Linked DNA regions of Homo sapiens: regions 1, 3, 4 and 5 are each linked to region 2. The links are contacts of gene promoters, found by promoter capture Hi-C in blood cells and fetal thymus (Javierre and others, 2016). All regions are on one chromosome and are shown on one strand. Each heading gives the region's core, a stretch centred on a gene start or on the middle of the fragment in contact. The rest is flanking DNA. Distances are from core to core; before and after follow the strand shown. Region 1 overlaps LINC01968 (long intergenic non-protein coding RNA 1968). Region 2 holds the start of XXYLT1-AS1 (XXYLT1 antisense RNA 1). Region 3 overlaps LINC01968 (long intergenic non-protein coding RNA 1968). Region 4 overlaps LOC105374292 (a long non-coding RNA gene). Region 5 holds the start of LINC01968 (long intergenic non-protein coding RNA 1968).

Region 1 (2,848 bases), core at 133-2,632, 350 kb after region 2:
TAGGACCGAGATAGGACCGAGACCTAATATTTCTCCCATGAGTCACTACATTACGCGTTACCAAGAATGCAGACCGCCTGTAAGAAGCCGTGCAGGTCCCTTAAGTACCTGAAGTCACAGCCACTTAACTCCAGCTGGACACATCCAAGCTGGGCTCACCAGTGTCTCATTGACTGGTGATCATGCGTCAGCCCTGTCAGGCCACCAGCCTGCCTAAAAGTCAACTCTCAACATGGCGTTCCTTTGCCAAGGAACCACTTGTGGGCAACATGGATGTCCACCCCTGGGCGTGGACAGGATGTAGTGGGTGTACTTCAGTGGTACTACACAGCCCTTAGAAGTCATTGCCTGTACGCACACTTGGTAGTATGAATGAATCTTAAAATCCTAGTGCCAAATAAAAAAGCCAGCAGCAGAATAACATATACGAAATCCCAAATCATTTACATACATTAAAGCAAAATGCATCCTAAGAACTAGGCAGCAATATCACTTATATAAGAACATGCACAAACACAAAGAAGGATGGCAAATGTATTAGAAGCAAGCCATCCCGCTATGGATGGGGAAATGAGAATACATAAGCAAATCAAGAGAGGGAATGTGTAGGGACCAATGATGGTAATATGTCATGAACTGCAGGATCTGATTAACTTAATCCTCTAATTTTCTTCACCAGAAGTCAAAAAAAGCAGAGGGACGTGGGGAGGACACATACATCTCTGACCTTGTTTACTGGTTTGTTTGTTTTTTTGGAGACCGAGTCTCACTCTGTCGCCAGGCTGGAGTGCAGCGGCATGATCTGGGCTCACTGCAACCTCCGACTCCCTGGTTCAAGCTATTCTCCTGCCTCAGCCTCCCAAGTAGCTGGCATTACAGGCACGTGCCACCACGCCCAGCTAATTTTTTTTTTTGTATTTTTAGTGGAGACAGGGTTTCATCATGTTGGCCAGGATGGTCTCTATCTCCTGACCTCGTGATCCACCCACCTCTGCCTCCCAAAGTGCTGGGATTATAGACATGAGCCACCGTGCCTGGCTGGTTTATTTGTTTATAGAGACAGGGCTTGTCCTGTCATCCAGGATGGAGTGCTGTGGTGTAATCATAGTTCACTGTAACCTTGAATGCCTGGGCTCATGGGCTCAAGCCATCCTTCTGCCTCAGCCTCCCGAGTAACTGAGACTATAGGTGTATGCCACGGCACCAGGCTAATTTTTAAAAAAATTTTTTTAGAGATGGGGTCTTGCTTTGTTGCACAGGCTGGTCTCAAACTCCATCTTTAAGTGATTCTCTTGCCTCAGCCTCCCAAAGTGCTGGGATTGCAGGTGTGAGCCACGGTGCTCTGCCTGGCCTAGGTTTACATTTCCAACCTCAGCTCCCACTTCCTTGAGCCTCAAGCCAAACAGGATGACCTGTGACTCACACAACACTCCCGATTCTTCGCCTTTGATTATGCTGCCCTTCTATGGCCAAGTCTGCCCCACACTTCCAGGGCCAGCTCCGGTGCTGCCCCCTCCACAGGCTTCCTCCTGTCTTCCTGAACCACCTGCTACTTTCTCTGCCCCACACTGCAGGCACTGGTCAGCATGTTTCGCAGCATGTCCTTATTTGTAGGCAGAAGTGACCCCAGTGGAGCCTCTAGGGTGGGGCTGCTCTGTTCAGGGAGGCTGTACACAGGGGCTTTTTGTGTCTTTGGCCATCTGCGCTCCAGATCGCAAGGTATGTCTTCTAAGCACACCCTTCAAAGCACTTCCTCTGAAAGGAGCACTTTCTCTACACAGAGATGCAGTACTTTCCCAGGAGAGCCCATCCCGAAGAAGAGGCCCACAGACAGATGCTTGGTGAATGGACAACTAGCAAGAGGACATCCACAAGCCCTTCTATAGTTAAGCCCTAGGCTCTCTTCCCATGCCCAAGACATCTCTCTGGCATCCCCTTTCCTCCCTTCCTGCAAGACCCAAGACTCAGCCGGGCTGCCTCTTCCCTTGCAAACTACTTCCACCCTGAGCCTCCTCTAAAATGGAACCTGACTGTGGAAGCCATTCTCTTGTTATTTGGACAACCACTCCCCACAGTCCCCCTCAACAATAGGTACTTAATCGGAAGCCACCTAGAGTCCTACAAACATAAAGATCTGGGAATTGGAAACCTTAGGAAGTGGTGAAAGCTCCGTTCCCTGTCTTCAGTGTGTAGATAGTCAGTAACAAACATTTCTGAGCACCTGTTATATGCTAGGCACTGATTTTGACCCTGGAGACATGATGGCGAGTAAAGGAACGTGAGCCCTCCCCTCATGGGGCTGGCTGATAATCTACTTCCCAGGGTGCAACTCTCACCCACTCTCCAAAGACAAGAATGTGAATTTTGCCAAATTCAATTTTCATTCCCCTGGGGCCTGTGCAGTGCTGGCAACAGAGGGGAGCCACTGGCTGGAGACCAGCTGCCTCCCAGGGCCCTGCCAGGGCTGGCACAGAGGGCTGGTGTTTCTATTCCCAGGGCCTGGCTCCCAACCAGGATGGCATCTGCTCAGCATTTGGAGCCCAGCATACTCTAATTGTCCTGTGGCCTCGTGGCACTTTCAGCCTATCAACTGAGTTTTTCTTAAAAAGCAACTCCTGTGTTTATTGGTTTTCTGGCCCAGATTTAGGTCACTAGAATTTTCCTTAAGGATGGAAAAACTCAGAGAACCAGATCTGGATGACTCTCTCATGCCGGGATGTGAGTGGGAGGGACTGGTGACATACTAAGAGAAGCTGGCTTAATGCCCACACCTACCACTCACTGCCTCACTACTTTTCTGAATGGCACTGGTCCTTCCTGAGCCCTTGGACAAGAAGCTAGGGGCCCT
Region 2 (2,766 bases), core at 259-2,758:
CCATAAACGCGTGCTAAGGATGGAGCCATCCATCAACCTTATTTCTCCTCTTGCCTTTGCTTAGACCATAGCGTGGACACTGCTATATATTACATATTGAATTGGGTTCCCGGAGCCTCTGGCCTCTCCCCGGAAACAAGTAAGACCTTCTCTGAAGCTGCTTGAGTTCCTGTGGGCTGGAAACAGGGCAGGGAAAGAGAGGTTTGCTAACTGGTTCCTTCCCAGCCAGATGTGGTTAACGTGGCCTCTGAAAGCACCTTACTCATCCCTGTTGAGCTGCTGACCTGCAGCTCCACATGTACCCACTCTGATTCACTGAGACTCACTCCCCCTCCAGTGAAGGCTGCCCCACCCGCAGATCAGGGGACCGCACGTGTTAGGGCCTTACCTAGGGTTCCCTGGCCACTGCCGCCTGCAGGCCCTCGCTTTGTTGTGGCTCTTCCCAAGAGTCATCAGGCGCTGTTGCTCACGCATAAGCACACAGGTGACAAAGTCCCCTGAAGAATTGCCCACCAGTGTGACCTGAACGACCCCTTTCCCCAACACCACACATGAGCACTCAAACTGGATGTGGAGGCCCGGCTGTAAGAGTGCCCATCTGCAAGGCTCAGCTCTAGGAGCTGTCCCCCTGCCTTCCCTGACCATATGGGGCACAGGTTCTGTGCTGGCCCCAGTCCCAGATGGTGGAAGGCAAGGAAGGAGAACCCACATCACCCACCTGCCGTGCACCGGGGGGTTCGCGTATGACTTTGTTTAATGCCCTGGCAGAGTCTTCTGAGGCATTACACTCACCACCGCCACAGGGAGAAGACTGGAGCAAGAGGAAGAGAATTTGCATTTGCGAGTGCACGCTGCGTTCCCGCGACAGCCAGACACTGCATTACCTCATGCAGCCCTCACGGCAGTCTCATGAGATGTAATGCTTAGTTCTGGTGGAGCTGGGGCCAGAACACACTTTCCCTGACTCAGAGTCCTCACTCTTACCTCCACCTTCTCACTACTCAAAAGTGTGGCCTGCAGACCAGTAGCGTTGGTATCACCTGGGGGCTTGTCAGCGATGCGGAATCCCAGTCTGCATTTTAACCAGATCCCGGACACACATTTCCCCCGCACAGTAAGGTCTGGGAAGCACTGCCCTGCATCTAGTAACTCTTATGTGAGAGAACCCTGGGAGGGGAGGTGGAGGCCAGTGGGGTTAGCTGAGAAAACCTTCTGGAGGGCCAGTGGCAGAGCTGAGCCACAGAACAGGTGCGTGGTGGAGCAGAGGCAGCATTTGCTAATCAGAATGGCATCTGCGATGCCTTCGCAGGCTGTGTGGAGAGGGGAAGGTGCGGCCTTGTGGCCCCTTGTCTGTGTGGAAGGGCAGGCGACTCTGTGGGGGAAGGGTGGCGTGGAGACGGGAAGCGTGATTACCCACACAGGCCTCGAGCACCCGCATCCAGGGACCACGGCCGCCAGGAGGGGCTGGACTCTCTCAGGAGAAGCGTGCGTCTGGGAATCCCCGCTGAGGGGGCTTGTGAATGTGGGATCGAAGCGCTTAGATCTTGGCTTCCGGAGGTCTCCGCGGGTGTCCAGCTTTGTACAGGGTGTGGGGATGAGTCTGCCGACCGGACTCCCATGTCAGCTTTGTGTCTGGACAGAACAAGGGGCGAGGAAGCCTGGTCGGGCCACTCTGGGCCTGCATGCGTGTGGGCAGGTGTCTGTTGGTCTTGGGCAAAGGGCGAGGTGACACTGAGGGCGTGAGGGAGGAGGCCCCAAGAGAGCAGGGAAGCGTGGAAGATGCCAGCTGGCCTGGGGGCGTGGATGTGGGTTTCAGCAGAGTGCAGACAGGCAGTGGGGCGTGGGGCCTCCTTGGGGCCTCGCTGGGCTGTGTCGGGTGCTTGCTTTCTTTTCTCCTTTGCCTCCTTCCAAGGTGCGTCCACAGCCAGCGTTTCTTTATGCTTTTCCCTCAGTCTGAGACCTAGGAACAGGAGAGGCCAGTGCTGTGAATTTCATGTTTCATGGCCTCCCCAGCAAGCCAGCCCACGAAATTCCACACAGGGAGGAGGAAGAGGAGGAGGAGGAGGAGGAGCTGCCACTGTCCCCGAGGGGAGCAGCTGACACTCTCCCCTTGACTGCACCAGGCCTTGGGGGTATGGCGCCTCCACGGACGTGGGCTGGGGGAGGATAGGCTCCTAATTAGTTTGGATGCGCTTGGAGTCAGGGCACCTTTTCCCCAGTGGGCAGTTCTGCACCCTGAACAGCTGTGGGGAGAAGGGCAGCGGGAGGACGGCCAGATAATTCCAGAAGAAAGGCTCCAGGAGTGGCAGCAGAACTGCTGTTATTTTCGGAGGAGTCTAATTACTTTCCCCAGGTAATGGCTTGAAGTAGCATCTAATTTTATTTATTTATTTATTTATTTATTTTTATTTTTTTATTATACTTTAAGTTCTAGGGTACATGTGCACATTGTGCAGGTTAGTTACATATGTATACATGTGCCATGCTGGTGCGCTGCACCCACTAACTCGTCATCTAGCATTAGGTATATCCCCCAATGCTATCCCTCCCCCCTCCCACCACCCCACAACAGTCCCCAGAGTGTGATATTCCCCTTCCTGTGTCCATGTGATCTCACTGTTCAATTCCCACCTATGAGTGAGAATATGCGGTGTTTGGTTTTTTGTACTTGCGATAGTTTACTGAGAATGATGATTTCCAATTTCATCCATGTCCCTACAAAGGACAGTAACTCATCATTTTTTATGGCTGCATAGTATTCCATGG
Region 3 (2,867 bases), core at 341-2,840, 330 kb after region 2:
GCTCTCACTTATAAGTGAGAACACATGCTATTTGGTTTTCCATTCCTGAGTTACTTCACTTAGGATAGTGACCTCCAGGTCCATCCCAGTTGCTGCAAAAGATGTTATTTCATTGTTTTTATGACTGAGTAGTATTCCATGGTGTATATGTGATATATTATGCATCAATTTAAAAAAAAAAATAAAGAAACCTAAGCGTGTAGTGTAAGAACTCTGAGAGCCAATCGCTCAATTGAAACTTTTCTTTGAGACCTTGGAGCAGGATTTGCAGGACCAAAGTGTGGGCCAATGAGGTGACAGACTGTCTCAAGAGAAAGAAGGGGAAATTGATGGTAGGAAAATTCATGATGAATTCCTGAAGAGGCTTTGTTTCAGTGAAGCATTTCTTAATTTTATTTTCCAGAATCTTCCCTTCAGAGAATACTAGAAAGTGTTCAGTATGTTAAGCCCTTAGAAATAAATTCTGGCCGGGCGCGGTGGCTCACGCCTGTAATCCCAGCACTTGGGGAGGCTGAGGTGGGTGGATCACAAGGTCAGGAGATCAAGACCATCCTGGCCAACACGGTGAAACCCCATCTCTACTGGGCGCCTGTAGTCCCAGCTACTCGGGAGGCTGAGGCAGGAGAATGGCGTGAACCCGGGAGGGAACCCGGGAGGCGGAGCTTGCAACGAGCCGAGATCGAGCTTGCAATGAGCCAAGATCGCGCCACTGCACTCCAGCCTGGGATACAGAGCGAGACTCCGTCTCCAAAAAAAATAAAAATAAAATTTAAAAGAAAAAAAAAATTCTACAGAAATTCACTAGAATCTCTCCTTCCTTCCTTTCTTCCAACTTTTCCTCCTTTCTTCTTTCCTCCGTTCCTCTTTCCTTCCTTTTCCCTCGCCTTATTCCTAAATGGATTTGAAATAACAAACGCCTCCGTGTTCTTGCGGTCCTGCACTTTAATAACACGGAATTGCACACTGCTTCATATGAGTGGGCCAGTGTCTGGAGTCCAAAATCTTTTCTGTTCTAAGAAATCTAGGCCAAAGCTGAACCTTCAGTAATGAGATCTAACCTATAATCAAATTAAATAGCACAGCATTAGATCAATTTCAGCCCCATACATCCACTGCTATTGGCTTCTACTAAATGTTTTAAATTGGTACAAAAGCCTTACTGAAAGGGAATCTTATATAGACCTATCATATAGAGGATGTTTCCTTAATCATCTTTTTAATGAAAAAAAAACTAAGCAAAAAGAAAACAAAATTAAGATCTAAGAGGCTTCATGATATCATCCCAAACCCAGCCAGTGATATTTTTGAAAGGGCAACAAAGAACTGGCGATAACATCTTTATTTTGGTTTGCTTCTAAGCCTAGAGGCACGGAGAAGATGAGAACATACACTTAGATCATGCCAACTTAGAAGACTTTCTAGTTTTGAAAATAGCATTTCTTCCTCTCCTTCCCAAACAGAGTAGCACTGGAACGCTCCCCGTCTTCATCCTACACTCTTTGACATCACCTCAAAGAGGAAGTCAATTTTACTACATGATTAAGACTCAAGCGAAGCATAATTCATTCAAGCAACTCACTACATATGTCAAAAATATAAATCCAGGGCTGGGCATGGTGGCTCATGCCTGTAATCCCAGCACTTTGGGAGGCCGAGGCTGGTGGCTCACTAGAGGTCAGGAGTTCGAGACCAGCCTAGCCAACATGGTGAAACCCCGACTCTACTAAAAATACAAAAATTAGCCAGGCGTGGTGGCACACACCTGTAATCCCAGCTACTCAGAAGGCTGAGGCAGGAGAATCGCCTGAACCCAGGAGGTGGAGATTGCAGTGAGCCAAGATGGCACCATTGCACTCCAGCCTGGGCAACAGGGCGAGACTCTGTCTCAAAAAATAAAATAATAAAATAAAATAAATAAAATAAAATAAAATAAATCCACGCCTTTCAGGAAAAGATGAAAAATCAGAGGGTCAAGGAAGACTGCATGGGCAACACATTAACTCTCTCCCATGTTCTTTCCTGAGAAGCCAAGATGCCCTGGCTTATGGTCCAACTCCTACCCCCACAGCCCAGAGGAGTCTCCCCTCCTCTAAAGTGGGTCTTAGAAACAGGTCCTTCCTGGCCGGGCTTGGTGGGTCACGCCTGTAATCCCAGCACTTTGGGAGGCTGAAGCAGTCAGATCACCTGAGGTCAAGAGTTCTAGACTAGCCTGCCTAACCCCATCTCTACTAAAAAATACAAAAAAAATTCACCGGGTGTGGTGGCACCTACCTGTAATCCCAGCTACTTGGGAGACTGAGGCAGCAGAATCACATGAACCCAGGAAGCAGAGGTTGCAGTGAGCCGAGATCGCACCACTGCACTCCAGCCTGGGCGGCAGAGTGAGATGCCATCTCAAATAAATAAATAAATAAAATATTTATCATGAATGATATCCCAAGGGGCCTGTGAAGACGCTGATGGTGTGTGGTCTGGCTTCCTTCTTTTTTTTTTTTTTTTGAGATGGAGTCTCGCTTTGTCACCCTAGCTGCAGTGCAGTGGCTCGATCTCGGCTCCCCGCAACCTCCACCTCCCAGGTTCAAGTGATGTTCGTGCCTCAGCCTCCCGAGTAGCTGGGATTACAGGTGCACACCACCACTCCAGGCTAATTTTTGTATTTTTAGTAGAGACAAGGGTTCACTATGTTGGCCCGGCTGGTCTCGAACTCCTGACCTCAGGTGATCCACCCGCCTTGGCCTCCCAAAGTGCTGGGATTACAGGCGTGAGCCACTGCACCTGGCCGGTCCTGTTTTCATATGCATTCAAATTCATTGATTTGCCACAAGAATGCTATCAGGTAGGTGCTGTGTTCAACCCCACTTTAAGGG
Region 4 (2,700 bases), core at 176-2,675, 280 kb after region 2:
TCAGTGTCCCTACCGCAAAATCACCTGTAATCATCCCACAGCAGCATCCAGCGCATTACATTAACAAAGCCCTGTGGCCTTTGCCATATATTCATATACTCAATATCTACGCCAGTCTTTTGAGAGTGTATGCTTACGTTCATGCGCTTTAATCTCTTTTTTACGGTGTGCTTACCGTGTTCTAGGTACTGTTTTAGGCACTGCCATTCAACGTATCATTTTACCGTCATATCACCCCCAAGAAGGGGATTTTATTAGCCTCATTTTACAAATAAGGAAACTAAACCTCCCAGATGCCGAGTAACTTGGTCAAGGTAAACGGCTTTGAGTCCACAGCCTGTGCGACCTTTCTGCTACATCTTAGAGCGATTGCACAGGCTCGGAGGAAAGCCAGAGCTGAAACCGTAGGGGTCATTATCTGTTATCCTGATTTGCCTTTTAAGGATGCAAATTGTGCGGAAGATTTTTTCATGATATCAAAAGATCAGACGGGCCCTTCAGACAGCAGAAGCCCTCGCCCTCCATAGACTCTCCAGCAAACGCTCTCAGGTGCATTTCCTGCCCGTGGGGCCCGTCCTGGGCTCAGTGACACACCCCAGCAGCACAGGCTCCTGCACAGAAGCCAGCCTGGCTTCTGGAAAGGAGAAGGTCTGGAGGCAGGGACACAAGCTTTGAAGGCTGGCAGGTCTGATTTTGAATCCTGGCTTCAGTCCTGAGCTGAAGTCACTTATCCTTTTGGGGTCTCAGTTCCCCCATCTTAAAGTAAAGGAAATAATAATTATTTGGCAAGACCCTTGTATGGCTTAGAGATAGTGGCAAAGGCTGTGTGCTGGTTAACTGGAGCTGATGGGGGTGGCAGCAACTATTAATAATCCTCCTCCTGAGGGCCCCAGTTCACTTCCCCCTACATTGTTCTAACTAAAGAAAAAATCAGATGGAGATTATTTGAAGAACTAAAAAATTATAAAGGCAACAGATTGCTCTTTGCAGTAAAATAATTCTAATTGCTCCCCTAGGTTTGGAGGCCAAGCCCCACTATTACAAATAGCATGATCATTAACATTTCGTATAACAAAAATACTTCAAATGTAAATGATGACCCTTCCCTCAGTTTAAGCCAAACAGGAAACCCACATGTGTGGGGTACACTATGGGTTGAAGAGGCAGGTCCCTTCCCTTGTCCCGGTGTCAGTACATGTGGTTTAGATACCCCAGAGACCGGGTGGCAGCAGCAGGTGGAACCCATCTCAAATTTTCAAAATCAAGAAATTCAAATCACACAATCTGATTTGTCTCCTGTGCTCAGTGCAACTAAATCTGGAAACCCCCTCCCCGCCACCCACAATTGTATTATAACAAAACTGAACATATCCCCTCTCTTTCCCCACTCAGAACAAATAATTCAGGAGTCTCACAAAACCTTTATCCTATTTCTTATTGCTTTAGCTTGTTTGTCCTTTTGACCTCTCAGTTCCATGTGTGTTCAACTAAAATCTAAATTGACCCACTTTGCACCCGGCACTGGGCAGACCAGAGAGGCAGCTGACCTCCTTTAGCGCCCATCACCTTCTGACTCTGTGCTACGTACCTGGCACAGCTTCTCCCTCATGACCTCATTCCCTGCCCTCAAGGGACTTAACAAGCAAATGGGAGAGACACAACTGTGTACAGCCACAACACGGTGCACAGTTTCCATGTCACAAGAAGGGAATGTGCAGGCAGAGGGGTGCTCAATTCCAACTGGAGAAACAAGGAGGTTCCAAAGAGGAGGCAGTATATGATGTGCCTTTTATTGATGGAAATTTCAGAGAAAGTTTTTTCATGATTATCAGAAGATCATTAACAGTCTTTCAACTAGGAGAAGCCCCAGCCCTCCCATAAACTCCATAAAAGAAAAAGGAGCAGAATTTCAAGATGGGAAGTTGGGAAGAGGAATCTGGTCATTGTAAACAGACTATGTTGCAAAACTTCAAAGACTCCTTAGAGATCAAGTAAACCCATGTAGCTGGGTCTTATTTACTGAAAGGGAGAAGCATCAGAGTGGAGCGAATAGTTCCCTACATTTGCAGTCCCCGCAATGACCAAGGATCAGGTAAATGACTAGTAATGGACTTCTATCTTCTTGAGTGGATAATCTTCCTATTACTGACAAATCGAGACGTGCTGCTATAAGAAGCTTCGAGCGCTCAGGCCTGGGAGCGGAAACCTGGTGCAAACATCCTAGACTGTTTGGAGCTGTCCAGGTTGTGTTGGTGTAGCCCTAACTGTGCAGCCAGACCAAGCCTAGGAGAGGAGCACAGAGCTGGCTCTCTTGCCTATAATCTGATGCATGAGAGAGCGCCTGGAAAATTATGTGTCCATTAGCTAAATGACCCTGGGGCTTTATGACTTGCTCTTTTTGTAAATCAAAAATAATAACAATAACAGCTCACCATCTTCTCATGCTGTTGGAGAGAGTGAGTATTTCATCTACCATTAAACAGTGACAGCTGCTCCCCAAGACAACTCCATTCTAAACCCCAGGATACAGAAGCTGACGGAAAGCCTGTGCTCCCATCCTGACCCACCTAGCCAGGACCCCATCATAATGAGCAATTTAGCCCCTTTCTTATCAAAGGGGTTGGCAACCAAGCCAGTTCCGAAGCGAAGGTGATTGTTTTAGTGCAGGAACATTTCGGGGAGGGACCAAACATCCCTGTC
Region 5 (2,700 bases), core at 195-2,694, 380 kb after region 2:
GTTTTGCTTAAATCAGCCAGAGTGTTATTTTTCTGTCGTTGTTGCTTTCAAACTAAGGCAATTTAGATAATACATCTTCTACTGTCCCAGTGGCCTAAGGAGTCTTGCTCTGTCACCCAGGCTGGAGTGCGGTGGTGCAATCTCGGCTCACTGCAACCTCCGCCTCCCATGTTCAAATGATTCTTCTGCCTCAGCCTCCTGAGTAGCTGGAATTACAGGCGCACACCACCACACGTGGCTAAATTTTGTATTTTTAGCACAGACGGGGTTTCACCATGTTGGCCAGGCTGGTCTTGAACTCCTGACCTCATGTGATCTGCCTGCCTTGGCCTCCCAAAGTGCTGGGATTACAGGCGTGAGCACTGCGTTCGGCCTAGGTTTTGTGTCTCGCAGCCTCAACCACCAGAAAAAGAATTATTGGTCCCAAATTCAAAATTTCCAGGGAAGGGACTTAGTGGCTGGGAGGTGGGTCACTTTGGCCAAGGGATGGCACACAGAAGAAAACACCAGTTCCCTTGGAGACCACAGGAATGAGCTGGGAGCAGTTCTTGGAAGAAGAGACGGTGCTATCGGAAAAAGTGGATGTGCCAGGCGGACTGGGCGGACTAAACAATAGGTTTCCAATTATTGGGTCTACACTTTCCTATATCTAGATTCCACTGAATACTTATTCTGAAATATATTCTTCCAAAAACAGGGTTTGTGGTTAAATAAATGTAGGGGAAACTATAGATTTTATCACTCATAGAGAATCATGAGACATATTAGCATATGAAAGGCTCTGACAATTTCTTTTAAAAAGAAACATCTTCAAGAATATTTGACCCAGTGTTTCCCAAGTTCATTTGATCACTGAAACCTTTTTTAATGCCATGCCCGTAACATTCCATGGGATTAGTGTTCTAAAAACATATTTTGGGAAAGCCATTCTAAGTGATAGATGTTCTTCAGAAAGACGTGAGTCAAATTCTTGAAAATAAGATAGCAGCCTGGGCACGGTGGCTTGCACCTGTGATCCCACCACTTTGGGAGGCCGAAGCGGATGGATCACCTGAGGTCAGGAGTTCGAGACCAGGCTGGCCAACATGGCGAAACCCCGTCCCTACTAAAAATACAAAAAAAAAACCACACAAAAAATTAGTTGGGCGTGGTGGCAGGCGCCTGTAATCTCAGTTGCTTGGGAGGCTGAGATAGGAGAATCACTTGAACCCAGGAGGCAGAGGTTGCAGTGAGCCGAGATCATGCCATTGCACTCCAGCCTGGGTGACAGAGCAAGACTCTGTCTCAAAAAAAAAAAAAAAAAGAAAGAAAGAAAAGAAAAAAAAAAGGCCTTTACACAAACCAGAGAGCTGGGTATTTATAGAAACTGTTAAATTATTTTCAAAGAGTTGTTTCATAACGTAATTTAAACGCCATCAGTGCTACCAGTTTCTAGGCTCAAGAGTTTTACGTGCTCAGAGTTACGTGTCTTATTAACATGGGCTACATCTCTGCAGCCCCAGACCTTCCCTATCTGGAGCATTCCTCTCCCGGGCACCCTCACATGTTGTTCAGAAGCCTTTTCAACTGTTTTCTAATACCCTGTCCCCTTTGGGGTAAAGCACATCTTTATGCCATTATGGGGCTGGCCACTGCAGTTTGCAAAATCAACTTAGCACAGGGACATCTGTTCTACTCTGTGTGCTGGTGTCATAAAAGGTCCCACTGGGCTGAGCAATGCACCTGAGAGCAGTGTTAACAGCACCTCACATCTGGGGTGGCCTGGAGGCTGGGCCAGCATGAATTAGTGTAATGAAGGTCTTCTCCTCTCTCACACGAGGTTGGAATCTCACACCAGATCAACTACCTGGATTAGAGATACAACCAAAGAGCACAGTAAACTGCATGGACATTTAGGACCAGAGCACTAATATAGGTTGGCTATTAAATCTGGAAACAGGTGAATATATAATAAATGGTTTGTTGGTATTACCTTATGATGCATGATAATATAATATCTACATGTCCAGACTTCATGGCCACTCTGTAGCAGAAGCTATTATTTATATCAAGCAGTTATTAAGTGTCAGGAGGTCCTCTTCTAAATGCTTCACCTGAATTAGCTAATTTAATTCTCACGATGCCATGAGGAGGGTACTGTCATCATTTCCACAGTAATAGGTCAGGAAACCAAGGCACAAAGGGCTTCAGCATCTGGCCCAAGGTCCGCTGTTGGTAAGTGGTGGGGCTGAGCTCGGGGAGCCCCACTCTGGAACCGGTACTCTTACACATACACTACGGCCGCCTCTCCAGGTGTCATGAAAGTCTCCTAGGCTTTGCTGAATAGCAGTCAAAAAAAACTGGGATTTAGCCTTCTCTATCTTGCTATTTTTGTTTCCATGGGTGGCATAGGAAAAATCATTGTAATTAACATCTGTACCACTCTTTGTAGTTTGGTCCTCATCACGACCCATTACAGCAAACCAGGCAAGGCCTATATTTCCATTTCCAGATGAGGAAGCTGAGCCTTTAACAGGATCCCTACCTAACAAATGGCAGAGCCATGTCCTCTGACGTCAGGAGCTTCATGATTTTAACTTACTGCTTGTGTTGGGTTCTGTGGTAGCCAATATACAAGGTGGTCCCGAGTGATCTTTGCCTCTTGTGTTATTTCCTCCCACGCTGAACAGGACTCACTTGTATAACCACTGTGACATTGTG

What was found. The method cuts DNA at HindIII sites, captures the fragments that hold promoters and counts their contacts. A CHiCAGO score of 5 or more calls a contact.
Region 1: a contact is called between a fragment that was not itself captured here and the fragment with the promoter of XXYLT1-AS1 in region 2, in 11 of 17 cell types (total B cells, naive B cells, neutrophils and 8 more). The highest score is 11.2, in total B cells.
Region 3: a fragment that was not itself captured here is called in contact with the fragment with the promoter of XXYLT1-AS1 in region 2 in 10 of 17 cell types (monocytes, naive B cells, total B cells and 7 more); the score reaches 10.4 in monocytes.
Region 4: a fragment that was not itself captured here is called in contact with the fragment with the promoter of XXYLT1-AS1 in region 2 in 2 of 17 cell types (monocytes and naive B cells); the score reaches 5.5 in monocytes.
Region 5: a fragment that was not itself captured here is called in contact with the fragment with the promoter of XXYLT1-AS1 in region 2 in 10 of 17 cell types (naive CD8 T cells, total CD8 T cells, M1 macrophages and 7 more); the score reaches 10.7 in naive CD8 T cells.

The regions. Positions count from the first base shown.
Region 1 is chr3:194,738,275-194,741,122 of GRCh38, reverse strand. The region is part of intron 1 of LINC01968 (long intergenic non-protein coding RNA 1968); the gene reads right to left. The region is part of intron 2 of LOC105374292 (a long non-coding RNA gene); the gene reads right to left. Among named protein-coding and RNA genes, the nearest start is that of LINC01972, 29 kb to the left of the region's middle. The HindIII fragment of the contact is 3,521 bases long and covers 1-2,848 here.
Region 2 is chr3:195,093,330-195,096,095 of GRCh38, reverse strand. XXYLT1-AS1 (XXYLT1 antisense RNA 1) reads right to left here and starts at 1,508. Exons shown (of 4, transcript NR_104188.1): 1 at 1,418-1,508; 2 at 719-811; 3 at 389-497; 4 at 39-176. The region is part of intron 3 of XXYLT1 (xyloside xylosyltransferase 1); the gene reads left to right. RefSeq lists enhancers at 1-1,123, 1,588-1,637, 1,708-1,877, 1,998-2,067. The HindIII fragment of the contact is 5,440 bases long and covers 1-2,766 here.
Region 3 is chr3:194,763,147-194,766,013 of GRCh38, reverse strand. All of the region lies in intron 3 of LINC01968 (long intergenic non-protein coding RNA 1968), which reads right to left. LINC01972 (long intergenic non-protein coding RNA 1972) reads left to right here. Exons shown (of 3, transcript NR_146990.1): 3 at 404-776. The region is part of intron 2 of LOC105374292 (a long non-coding RNA gene); the gene reads right to left. Among named protein-coding and RNA genes, the nearest start is that of LINC01972, 4.1 kb to the left of the region's middle. The HindIII fragment of the contact is 6,875 bases long and covers 1-2,867 here.
Region 4 is chr3:194,809,170-194,811,869 of GRCh38, reverse strand. All of the region lies in intron 3 of LOC105374292 (a long non-coding RNA gene), which reads right to left. Among named protein-coding and RNA genes, the nearest start is that of LINC01972, 42 kb to the right of the region's middle. The HindIII fragment of the contact is 1,507 bases long and covers 672-2,178 here.
Region 5 is chr3:194,708,420-194,711,119 of GRCh38, reverse strand. LINC01968 (long intergenic non-protein coding RNA 1968) reads right to left here and starts at 2,699. Exons shown (of 4, transcript NR_037891.1): 1 at 1,973-2,699. The region is part of intron 2 of LOC105374292 (a long non-coding RNA gene); the gene reads right to left. The HindIII fragment of the contact is 5,304 bases long and covers 1-2,700 here.